3 separate regions of the Homo sapiens genome follow, and regions 1 and 2 are each linked to region 3. The links are contacts of gene promoters, found by promoter capture Hi-C in blood cells and fetal thymus (Javierre and others, 2016). All regions are on one chromosome and are shown on one strand. The core of a region is centred on a gene start or on the middle of the fragment in contact, and the rest is flanking DNA. Distances in the headings are between cores, read along the strand shown. Region 1 overlaps TGM4 (transglutaminase 4). Region 2 overlaps ZDHHC3 (zDHHC palmitoyltransferase 3). Region 3 holds the start of ZNF445 (zinc finger protein 445).

Evidence for each region. The method cuts DNA at HindIII sites, captures the fragments that hold promoters and counts their contacts. A CHiCAGO score of 5 or more calls a contact.
Region 1: a contact is called between a fragment that was not itself captured here and the fragment with the promoter of ZNF445 in region 3, in 4 of 17 cell types (total B cells, naive B cells, naive CD8 T cells and 1 more). The highest score is 6.3, in total B cells.
Region 2: a contact is called between a fragment that was not itself captured here and the fragment with the promoter of ZNF445 in region 3, in 4 of 17 cell types (naive CD4 T cells, total CD8 T cells, activated CD4 T cells and 1 more). The highest score is 7.4, in naive CD4 T cells.

What each region holds. Positions count from the first base shown.
Region 1 is chr3:44,910,474-44,914,444 of GRCh38, reverse strand. It overlaps TGM4 (transglutaminase 4), which reads right to left. Exons shown (of 14, transcript NM_003241.4): 12 at 3,318-3,487; 13 at 3,039-3,175; 14 at 1-861. The coding sequence ends at 720. Among named protein-coding and RNA genes, the nearest start is that of TGM4, 38 kb to the right of the region's middle. The HindIII fragment of the contact is 3,807 bases long and covers 1-3,680 here.
Region 2 is chr3:44,969,437-44,973,623 of GRCh38, reverse strand. The region is part of intron 1 of ZDHHC3 (zDHHC palmitoyltransferase 3); the gene reads left to right. Among named protein-coding and RNA genes, the nearest start is that of ZDHHC3, 4.6 kb to the left of the region's middle. The HindIII fragment of the contact is 1,139 bases long and covers 1,870-3,008 here.
Region 3 is chr3:44,475,144-44,479,267 of GRCh38, reverse strand. ZNF445 (zinc finger protein 445) reads left to right here and starts at 1,598. Exons shown (of 8, transcript NM_181489.6): 1 at 1,598-1,677. LOC101928529 (a long non-coding RNA gene) reads right to left here and starts at 1,578. Exons shown (of 4, transcript XR_940785.4): 1 at 1,059-1,578; 2 at 599-686. RefSeq lists silencers at 1,621-1,780, 1,801-1,850. The HindIII fragment of the contact is 9,006 bases long and covers 1-4,124 here.

The DNA of each region.
Region 1 (3,971 bases), core at 528-3,027, 430 kb before region 3:
GCAATGCCTTCTCCCTGGAGTCTCCCAAGGGGCAGCTTTAGAATAAGGGAAGAGGATTTGCTGGTCACCGTTTGCTGACATGGGTCTCTATGGTGAGTTCAGGCCTGAGGACAGGGTTGTCTGCAAAACCACATGGCCCTTGAGAAATGTCCTTGCAGATTGGGCTTCAAACTGCTTGGAGCACCAGGAGAGGGACTTCCTGGATTTCAGGGATAGAGAGAGGAGAATGGAGGCAATAGGAGGAGAATGCACTTCTATCAGGCCCATCCCAGTGCTGAGAGAGCACTCCAGTTGACAGGTGCCTTCAGGGCTGGTGAACCCATGGCCTGAAGATATGGCAGCTTCTCAAGGGTCGTCAGCAGGTGGCAGCACTGGGCTGCCCATAGTCTGCTGCTCCAGGGAGAGACTCTGTGGCTTCGAAATCTATGGATTTGAATTGAGACAATGGTGGCCCTGATTTTTGAGGCCATGACTCAGGAAAGGGATGGGATTCTGTGGCCTCGGCTGGTGTTTCTAACTGTAAAAGAGGTGACCCTGTGATAGCACAGGACCTGGCCTTGTGGGTCTGGCTGCTTATGGTTGTGTTGGCCTTTTTGACCTGCTGGCTCTTGAATCTGCCCTCATATAAGTCATCAAATTTAATCATCCATAATCTGAAAGCTAAGCACAAGGTAGGAAATGCTGAAATCTCAACTAAGGCTCCACAGCATCAGACAAGGCTACTTGGTGATGAGAACAATCTTCTGAGCATTAATCTCTTTCACTTGTTTGGAACTTAACTTGACGATAAATTTCTTGGGTCCAGTTTTTATTGGGGTGCATTTTATTTGGGATTGGATGGTCTCACCAGGCTGCACCGTCCTGGAAAATTCAAAGACATACGGACATACAATCAGCCAAGGATGTTATGGGAAGAGGGAGAAGATGAGTTGGGTGAGAAGCCAGGAAACTGAGCCTTAGCTCAGCCTCTTTGAAAAGTCCTGGCCATTCCAGGGCATGGCACAGTGTACCTGCACCCTGGGTGCTGCTATCAGTTTTCTCAGATGTAAAGCAAGACGGGTGAACCAGCTGGTTTCCAGAAGCTCTTCCAACTCTGACATTTCACAAATCTTCCCTGGAGTCTTGCCTGACTTTACTACAGATGTTCTTGTTTCATGAGTATTAGCAACAGTCATCTATTACATAAAATCTAAGAGGAACATGTATTTTATGTTGAATCCACATGCAAGGAATTGGCTAGCCCCTCACTACTCAAAGTGTGTTCTGGGGCTTCGCAATACTAGCTGAGCTTGTAGGAAACACAGAATCTGAGGCTCCACCCTAAACCTGCTGAATCAGAATCTACACTGTAACAATACTCCCCAGGTAATTTGTGTGCACATTAAAATGTGATAAATCGTGGTCTAAGGAAAATAGGAGTCTACTCATTTTTACTTGGAAGATTCAGACATCCTGTAAGAAACAGACCATCAGAAACCTCTCAGAAACAAAACATTAGAGTTCAGTAAAGTTTTTTGCTGGATATATCAGCATGCCAAAAATCAATTTCCATATAGTCCAGCAAACAATTAGAAAATACAATGAAAAATATTCCATTCATAAAAGCTATAATATTGATGCATCTTGGAATTAACCCAACTAATAACGTGCAAGTGGTATATAAAGAAAACAATATAGCTTTTCTAAAGGTGATAAAAAAGACTGGAAAAAAATGGGAAAATCTCATATTCCTAGATGGCAAGACACAATATTGTCATTTGGCATAATTCTCCCCCAAATAAATAGGTAAATTCAATGCAGTATCAATCTAAATCCCAGCTGTTTTAAAATTATATGACAAGATGATTCTAAAAGTGCTATAGACAAAAATGGGGGTGGGGTGGGGATTTGCCTAATACATATCAATATGTAGATATGATAATCATATAAAATTATTATAGGACTACAATAATTTAAGTGGTATGATGTTATATTAGAAGAAGACAAATGAAATAGCAAATTAAAGAGTCCAGAGACCCAGATATATATGGGAATTGACAGCATAATAAAGGCAGTGCTACAAAGTACTAGGAAAACCACAGACAAAGTTGGAGCTCCACATCACTCCACACCCAAAAAAAATTCCAGATAAATACCTAATTGTGTAAATAAAGCTGGAAATTCTAGAAAAAGCATAAGAGAATATTTCTATGCACCTAGGATGACATGAAATTCAGTATCCGTAAAGGAAAAGATTGAAAAATTTGACTACATTAAAATTTAAAAGTTCTACTGGTGAAAGACATCTTAGTGTTTAAAAAAATACAAACTGTTCGGCCGGGCATGATGGCCCATGCCTGTAATCCCAGCACTTTGGGAGGCCAAGGCGGGCAGATCACCTGAGGTCAGGAGTTCAAGACCAGGCTGGCCAATATGGGGAAACCCCGTTTCTACTAAAAATACAAAAATTAGCCGGGTGTGGTGGCATATGCCTGTAATCCCAGCTACTCAGGAGGCCAAGGCAGGAGAATCACTTGAACCTGGGGACGGATGGAGATTGCAGTGAGCCAAGATCGTGTCACTGCACTCCAGCCTGGGCAACAAAGTGAGACTCCACCTCAAAATAAATAAGAATCAAATTTAAAAAATTGAATACAAAACTGCTATAAAAAAATTCACAGCACATAACACTCTACTGTGTAAAGACACCATACCAATATGAAAAAATAAATGACTCAGTAGAAAAATGGACAAAAGTTAGGAACAGGCAATTCACAGGAGAGAGTCAATTAATGTAAGAAATATTCAACCTCACAAATAATCAGATGCAAAGTAAAGCAATGAGATTACTTAACCACTAGATTGGCAAGAATCAAAAAGATCTGTCGGTAGAGCATAAATTGATGCAATCTTTTCTCAAAGTAATTTGGCACTAGCAAAATGTATCTACATTTTGACCCTGTGACCCCATACTGGGAATTCACTTCTCAGGAATATGCACACATGTGCAAGATATATGTCCAGAAGCATATTTCTAAGAATACCTCAGGCAGACTCACCCATGGTCAGAGGTCTGTAGTGAGGAGATGCCCAGGCTTTCCAAAGAGAACTTGACGTCAGTCAAAGGGATGGCCAGGGTATTCTTGAAGATACAATTGCAGACAAGTAGCTGGCCAATTCTGCCTGTGTTAGGCAACTGTAGTAGGGTGGGGAGGAGAGATGGGGAGAGAAGATATGCATGAGCCAACCAAGGACCCTCAGGGTTCTTAGGGGCCCCGTCACACTCCATGGCCAACTTCCAGGCAGAAGGAGCCCTTTATGGCCTGCAGGAAGCTCACCTCTATAGAGAACTCAGGGTACTGGAAAGACGTGAATACTTCAGAGGCCATGATTTCCTTAGACTCCACAATTTCCGCAATGATGAAACCTCTGATAACTGGCTCATCATCTAATATAGCCAGGCTGTTGATGTAGGTCTTGGAGTCCAAGGTCAGAGTCACTTCTGATACTGCCAAAGAGTCAGGGTGGAGGGGAGAGGTCATTCATCATACCCCCCCAGTATGAGTTCTCCTCATCAAGCACAGAATTAGATTAACTTTGTGTGAATTGAACTGGATAACTTTGGACATGTCCCATACTCTCTTTAGAAAACAAGACGTTGGGCTCAAGATGGAATAATAATTGGCCAAGTTCTCCAAGCTTACATCCTGAGTCCATGACAGACATTACCCGTTGTCATCAGGACATCCCACTTGTTCCCAACACTGTGCCTTGGGTACTCATAATCATTGATCTGACTGGGCATCTGAGATTAAAATTTCTGCCACCATAGAAGACTTCTCATGACACTTTCAGCACCCCTAATTTATAACTCTACGATAGACCCAGGCTCCTAGTCCAGTGGTCTCTTTGGCTCACTTTTCTTCTGTGGCTGGCTTTCTTGTGACTACCAAGGGGTAGGTGCTCAATAAATGTTTGTGTTAACTCACACA
Region 2 (4,187 bases), core at 1,190-3,689, 490 kb before region 3:
AGCCGGGCATGGTGGCGCATGCCTGCAATCCCAGCTACTCGGGAGGCTGAGGCAGGAGAATCGCTTGAACCCAGGAGGCGGAGGTTTTAGTGAGCTGAGATCACGCCATTGCACTCCAGCCTGGGCAACAAGAGCGAAACTCCATCTCAAAAAAAAATAAAAATAAAAAATAACTGATTCAATCCTTGCAACAGCCCTGTGATGCAAGTATTCTTATCCCTATTTTACAGATTGGGAAATGAGGCACAGAGAGGTTAAATGCCTTAACCAGGGTCACAGGTTACATCATTGGTAAATGGCAGAACCAGGACTTGAGACCAGGCAGTCTAGCTCTCCTGCCCATACTCCTAACCATCACCTTACACAGCCTCCCCCCAGGTTTTATTACATTCACCAGATTATTTGGTGAAGGAAATCCCAATTTTGTTATGGCGTTGGTAACTGTCCTATGAACTATATAGTTAATCTTAATTCCAAAAGCAAGAAGTCTGTTCAAGCATAAACTCATATCCCTTGAATCATTTTTCTAGAGGAACATGGAATGTGGTGCTGATGGGATGTTGCTGTGTCTGTTGCAACCCAATATTTTAAACAAGGTAAAAGGTTATATATGAGCAGAATAAGAGCTTAACTCCAAGTAGCTAAGGAGAGAGCCCTCAATGGCAAAGATGGCTGATAGATCTGGTACTAGGGTTGAGTAGCATGCATGGAGACCCAGATTCCAACCGTATGCCATACTCAGATATCTAGAAACTCCAGACAGTGTGTTTGCATGCCTGTGAGTCCCTGGTGTTCTTATGGGCATAAAGAGATAAACTCAAAACACAACACCTGCCTAAAAGTAGTTTAGAATTTATTATAGTGGGGGAGCCCAGGACCTCGAACTACTGCATGAACAAGACAATAAAATAAAGTGCTCAATTGAGACGTGGCAATTAGAAGAGAGGCCAGCCTATAATAAGGTGCTAATTGTGCAGGCCAGGTATCAAATACAAAAGGTAAAGAGCTGCTGCTAGCCACAAGCCGGCAACAATAACATGACAGAGATGGAGTAACTCTGTCCCACCCATCCTTGGTTAATTAAACCAATAAAAGCCAGTTACAAAAGAGCTTCAGGGCAATGCTGAGTCTGTGGTGCTGATGTTGCAGAGAGCTTTTTTGGAGACAGAGTCTTGCTCTGTTGTCTAGGCTGGAGTGCGGTGGCACAATCTCTGCTCACCGCAACCTCCGCCTCCTGGGTTCAAGCAATTCTTGTGCCTCAGCCTCCCGAGTAGCTGGGATTACAAGTGTGTGCCACCACTCCCGGCTAATTTTTGTATTTTTGGTAGAGACTGGGTTTGGCCATGTTGGTCAGGCTGGTCTCGAACTCCTGGCCTCAAGAGATCTGCCTGCCTTGGCCTCCCAAAGTGCTGTGATTATGGGCATGAGCCACCATGCCCAGCCATAGAGAGCTCTTAAAAGCCCAGCAGGAAACCTTCTGTTCCCAGTCCTAAGCAGACATGGCCATGTTTTAGGCCTTTTCCTTTGCATTTTCACCATTAGCCCAGCACCCTTGAAATGTACAAAGTCAGTTACCGTTTTGCCTGTAGATCTGTTTCCTTTAAACACTTTGCATTTGTCCCGCCTGTACCTTGTCTTAAAAGAATGAGGTGGGAGGATCCCTTAAGCCCCGGAGTTTGAGTCCAGCCTGGGCAACATAGACCCCATCGCTAAAAAATAATAAAATAAGTAATAAAATAATGATAGAAATGAAGAATATCTGTAAAGAATACTGTCATAGTCTGGCCAGCAGGTCTTCATCTGTCTTCTAGACATTGTAACTTGAGATTACAGTGATAGAAAAATTGCTAGTAATACATGGGTAAAGCTTACTCTTAATTAGAGGAAAAGTTATACAGTCTTCATGTGTGTTTCATTTTGGGAGAGTGACAGCATGTTTCCTATGTCTCATTAGGGCATATTTGAGAAAAGGGGGTAACAGATCCTGCTTACCAAATGTAGAAATATTTAAACACACACACCCTGATAGCCATGGAAAGTAACAAAGTCTCAAGTAGAAGTGGAGGGGTGATGTCTCAGTGTTGACCTGTTGGGGAAAAAATGAGGCTCATGCCATGCTGCCTTTAGTTCCTTCCTGTTTTGCATTTTAAAAAATCATTTGCTTTCCTCCTCGGAAGCAGATTTCCAGAGACAAATGGCCAGTTCATTCATGGCTGTCAACTGTGAAGGTGAGAAGGCTCCAGGTGCATGTCCCACTTAATTCAGTCATACATCCTAATACATTTGGAATGCATGGGAAATGTCATCATTTCATAGTCTCCTCCAAACCATAGACTTCGTAGTATGTATTGACTTGGCACTTGAACTCTTGGCAAGATATGAATATGTATTTCCTATTCAAGGTCAGTGGAGATGCAATGCCTTTGAGTGAGATCACTTTCTTACCTTAGCAAGGTAAGCCTAATGAGACAAGTACAGTTCTGGCCACAGTCCTGTTGCAGTAAAGTCTTCAGTATGTGAAGTGTATGTTTCTAAACCAAGAAATAGTAGCAGAGAATCTAGAAAGACAGGTTGTTTAGGAAGATAACAATCTATGGTAGAAAGACTTCCGGGCATCTTAGTCCAAAGATTTGGGCTTTGCTATTAACTTGCTTTATGACTTTGAACAAGTCAGTTAACCTAAGTCTCATTTTGCCCTCAAGTGAGTATCTTGCCAGGTTTTTAAACTCAGAATGGATCCTGGATATGCAAATATTTGAATATTGAAAAATGACCATGTTTAAATTGGGGTTTTTAAGACTTCTTTCATTTACCACTTCATTATACTTGATATATTTTGCTAGTGCTTTTTCCACTCTGAAAAAAATTAAATGAACAAAAGGAAGTCGTAATTTTATGCTGTACTTGATTGAAAAAACTAAACATGCTCAGGAAATTGCTAAGAGAGATAGTTACTAGTGGGCTTCTTTTTGAATATTAGCAAATCGGGAAAAGAGGTAAGTGAAGCTTTTGGTAAAAAAATGTAAAATCCAAGATATTAACAAAGAAAACGTTGAATTTGCTCCTGAGAACAGAGGACTCATAGAATCTCAGCCCTGCAAGGGGCCCTAGCAATCAGCGTGATCTTCCCCTTTGTTTTATCAAATGAGGAAACTGAGGCCCAGAATGGTAACTGTCTTGCCTGAGATCATGAGGTTAGCGAGTGGCAGGATTGGGAGTAAACTCTGGCCTCTTGATTCCAAGCTCAGTCTTCATTCCCTTTAGCACTAGCCTCCCATCTATTTCCAAAGCCCTCTGGTGAATGGCTGGAGAGCCCCTCACCAGGTAAGCAGGGGCTGTGTTCTCTTTCTCACAGCCCATTACAGCCTTCTTTCTGTGGTCCCAGGTTCCTCCCAGGGCTCTGCTCTTGCACTGCCACTTACAGTGCCTGGAATAAGTGATACCAGCAGATTCCTGAAAGTCAAATGGCTCCCCTTTTTAGGCCCTAGTACCTAGTACAGTTGCAATAACTGGTTCTCTCCCTTCCCTAGCTAGTCTTTCGGATTTCTCTAAGCACTTTTGCTTTTAGTCCCTAAAAACAACCAAGCTCTGGCCTAGCCTAAGTGATGTCACAGTGGCTGTGTGGCTGCACATGACACAATGTGGGCCCAGGTGTCATTCTCAACATCCTCAGGTGGGAACCTTTGCTGATAGGTCTCTGCCTAGCATGGGGGGAGGCGTTTTTTCTCACAAAAAGCAGCATTCTGTTACTTGGCACCACAGGAAGTATTTCCCAGCCAAAGCAGATTTTAGGGATTCAATCCTAGGTGACTCTTCTGGCTGAGGCTTCACGGCCTTCCTGCCTCCTAGGTTAGGGCAGGATCGGTATTCTAAATGTTGGCTGGTATTCAGCCAGGGCCCCACCTTAGAGCCCAAAATGCTTATGTTCAGGCCTGTGGCCTGTGAGCACCACTGCATGCAGCCCACTCGATAATGCCACCTCTGCATAACCATGTGTGGACAAGATAGCCAAACCGTAAGTAACCCAAGGTCACTGATGGAAACATCAATACTCCTCCCCCTTTTATTTTCTAGTTACTAGACAAAATTTAATTATTGTAGTAAGTAGTGAAAAGCAAGCCCTGGGGCAAGAGCAGACTTTGGGAGTATATCCTGTCTCCACCACTTCCTGGAAGTATGGTTGTAGG
Region 3 (4,124 bases), core at 349-2,848:
GCTATCCATGCTAACCACCTATCACGTTGAAAAACATCCAGTAAGTACATCCCAAACACAGAGAACCTGCTCAAACTCTTCTACGATGGGAAAATTTTGTTCTCAAACAAAACTTGAAAACTCTTCTCACCACTATGGGTGGTTCTGAGTCACTCAAGAACATTATATCGAGTGGAAATTAATGGACAAATTAGGCATTGACAAGCAGTTTCTATTTTCCTTTTTGTATGTGTTGGATATTTTCCAATTGCCCCTCCATATTCAGTCTCAGTCCTCAACCCTGCTGTGACACTTGGGAGACTGAGTTTCCTGGATTGCCCTCTGGCTTCCAGTTGAGTTGGGCCAATGGGAAGCCCTGGCAGGAGATCAGAAGAGAGCTGGGTTCAGGTTATTTATTACCTCAGCTTCCTTTGTGCTGGACTATGGCTTGGATGTAGCCCTCAACTGAAAGCCACAGTTTCTCTCAGATGGCCTGCTCCTAGGGGTGAGAATAGCTTCTAAATTTTGCTAGCCATGGGATTCTGCACCACTCCGTGTTGCATTTCCTTAACCCTGTCCACTTTGTGTAAATCGCCCCTTGTGAACTCTCCCCACTTACCTTGTTTGAATGTGCCATCTGTTTCTCTATCACCTTGTCACCATCTTCCTGGTGTTCAGGATCTATTCTCTGTTTCCATCTTTGGTGACTGGGGCATTAAAAAGGGGTGGATCAGATGAGTAAAGCAAAGCCTCAGGGCACAGATGGGCATCATCAATGCCCATCTGAAAGATCAATCGTCAACATGTTGCAGCCTGCCACTAGGAAGCACAAACCAGAGGACTACCAGGACAGCAGCTTGTAGCATGCCCTCCAATGGCAGCAGATGGCCTTATGGCTTTGGCTGTGCACCCTCAAGGTTCTCTGGCACTGGCAATAGATGACATTTGCTCCTACAGGGGGTGGGCAACCTCTCCAGGTTGCTTCACCTCCTCTTCAAGCAGCCCCTCCACCCCCTACCCCCAACCTACTCCTCCCAGATTCCACATATTATTGGGCAATGGCATCATTGTTCACTCACCAGGCGAGCCTAGTTAGAATTCACCCACAGGAGAAAACGAGTGAAGGCCGTGGGAAGCTAAAGTATGGTGCACCTCTGAGCTGGCTATGAACAAGTATTCCTGGGTATGGTGATGATGGGGATGAGCTCGTCTTGGAAAGGCAGGAGTTCTGGCACCTAGCTTCCCGTAGGATCTGGTTCCCCTCTTTGAAGTGTACCCAGGCGAAGAATGAGTGGCTCCCTTAACCCCTTCTCCTGGCCAGGACCAGTCTGCTAGATACTGCTGGCCCTATTTTCACCCCTAGCTTTGGATCCCTTTCTTCCCTGGAGGGAAAGAGGCCTTCAGGGCAGCCCCGCAGACACGACAGGAGGGATGCAAGAAAACAGGCGCGGCTGGGCATCCGAGCGTGGAAGGGAAATGTCCAACTGAGGGAGGTGAGGGATGTTGGACAAGCCCCGCCGCCCGCCGCACCGGAGCCGGAGAGAAGCAGAGACGTTGGGCCTCCCAGTTTCCTAGAGAGGCCGCGGAGGGCCCCGGGCGCCGACGCGCGTGCGCGACTGGAGCCGCCGGGAGGTAGGCGCGGGACGGGCGGCTGCGGTGGCGGCGGGTGGACCGATTGTCGCTCGGCGGCGGGAGTCGGTGAGAGGCCTGGCGGGGCGCGGGGGTGGGGGTGGCGGCATTGCGGGCGCGGGGCTCCCCGAAGTCCGCGGCATTCTCGGGCCTGCCCGGGCGGCGGACGGGGCCCGGCCTGGAGGCTGCGCCCGTGGCGGGGGTCTGGCGGTGGATCCCGCCCCCGCCACGCTGAGGGCGTATCTAGAACCTCTTTGCCTCCCAGGCGTCCGGGGTAGAGAATCTGGAGCCCGGGTTTCTCCGGGCTTTCTCGTTTCATCCAATTCTGCATATAAAGCGTATTTATCAGAGACAATTAGATAACACGGGAAAGTAGAAGAAAAGTAAAAGTAGCCGCAATCCTGAAATCTGTCTCCAGGCCTCCTGACATTTAAAATATCTGTGCATAATTCTGCACACTGACATCCATAAATATATATTACGAAATGAGAGCGTGCTCTTGCTTTTTAAAAAACCTGTTAGTATTATTGTGAGGAAACAATATTGTGCCAAAATAACACATAACATTTACCATACAATACATAAACGTTTACCATTTAACCATTTGGAAGTGTGTAATTCAGTGACATTAAGTATATCCATACTACTGCTTTTTAAAAATTATAATCTCCTGAATTTGTAGAATGCATTTGTTCTTATTTTGGCTAAAATTAGTGCTGGCATTATGACACCACTAAAACATTTTTTTTTTGGCGAGGATAATTAAGAAATCGTGTTTGCAGTTTATTTTCTGTAGGAGACACATTTGCATGAAGCTCTAAATGGTGAAGTGACATTTGTGCAGAAAAATAGCAAAATCTTGTTTGTCAGGGTGGTTATCTTTCACAATGAAGTAACTAGTATATAAAATGCAGTTTTTAAACAAAGGCAGAGCTCTAACCTGCAGCGATTGTAGCACACTCTGACTTGCACAGGCCTAAGAGATCAGAGTATTGTCTCCTTCCGAATTTAAAAGTGGTGGCCAGGAAAGAATGTTATTCTGTTTCAAACGGCTTGTAGTGCAAAACTAAAAACTCAGTATTAGGTTGGTTGTTTTGCAAGGAAGTGCCAGGGAGTGGTTTGAGCAGTAATTTGATTAAGCAGTTTCAGAGAGCCTCCATGTGTTGTGTGTGTGTCTGCGTGTGTGTGTGTGCATGCATGTGTGTGCATATTCAGGGACCAAAGAATTAGGCTGCTCTTTTATGTTATCTTAATGAAAGGCAGACACATTTTGGTTAGAAAAAAAAAAAAGTCTTACTGTAAGCCGAAAAGATGAGAATGTTTTGAAGATAAACCTCAGTATGCACTTAAAAAGGAAACTGACAAAAAGCATGAAAAATGGCAAGTATTCCACCGCTAGGTTTTCTCTGGCTTCCGGTATCCAGGAAGAATTAGTGCATAAGCAGTCTACGATGTCAGAGAGTAAACTATAGTAAAACATAACACTGTATTTTGCAATTTTCAAGATTTTGTATTAGAAACAATGTGAAAGAGTACATTTCTGTGACTCTCAGGCGAATTGTTAGGTGTTCTGTAAGATTGAATTTATGAATTTCTTTTTTTCCTTCCTATTCTTAAATTTATTTTCTTTTTCCTTGTTTATTTTATTTATTTTATTTTTGAGACGGAGTTTCACTCTTGTTGCCCAGGCTGGAGTGCAGTGGTGCAAACTCGGCTCACTGCAGCCTCCGCCTCCTGGGTTCAAGTGATTCTCCTGCCTCAGCCTCCCAAGTAGCTGGGATTACAGGTGTGTGCCACCACGCCCAGCTAATTTTTGTATTTTAAGTAAAGACGGGGTTTCACCGTATTGGTCAGGCTGGTCTCGAACTCCCGACCTCAGGTGATCTGCCTGCCTCAGCCTCCCAAAATGCTGGGATTACAGGCGTGAGCCACCGTGCCCGCCTCTTGTTTTATATTACTATGTAGCAGCTGTCACTGTTTAGCATACCACGAATCTGTCTCCTCATAGACGCCTCAAGGCAGTACTGGAACATACAGTAGGTTCTCAATAAATATATGACAAATTAATGAAAGAAGGAATCCAAATTGGTAGATAAAAATTGACAGTATTAAATGTCCTCGATTTTTAAGAGCCACTTACCAAGTTAATCTTTAATACCTGGCTGAGCATGGTGGCTCATGCCTGTAATCCCAGCACTTTGGGAGGCTGAGGTGGGTGGGTCACCTGAGGTCAGGAGTTCAAGACCAGCCTGGCCAGCATGGTGAAACCCCATCTCTACTAAAAATACAAAAAATTAGCTGGGCATGGTGGCGGGCACCTGTAATCCCAGCTACTTGGGAGGCTGAGGCAGGAGAATTGCTTGAACCCAGGAGGCGGAGGTTGCAGTGAGTGGAGGTCACGCCATCGTACTCCAGCCTGGGCAACAAGAGTGAAACTCCGTCTCAAAAAAACAAAACAAAACCTGTAATACCTAAAATGGAAATAAATCAGATAAAAATGATGATGACTGAATGAC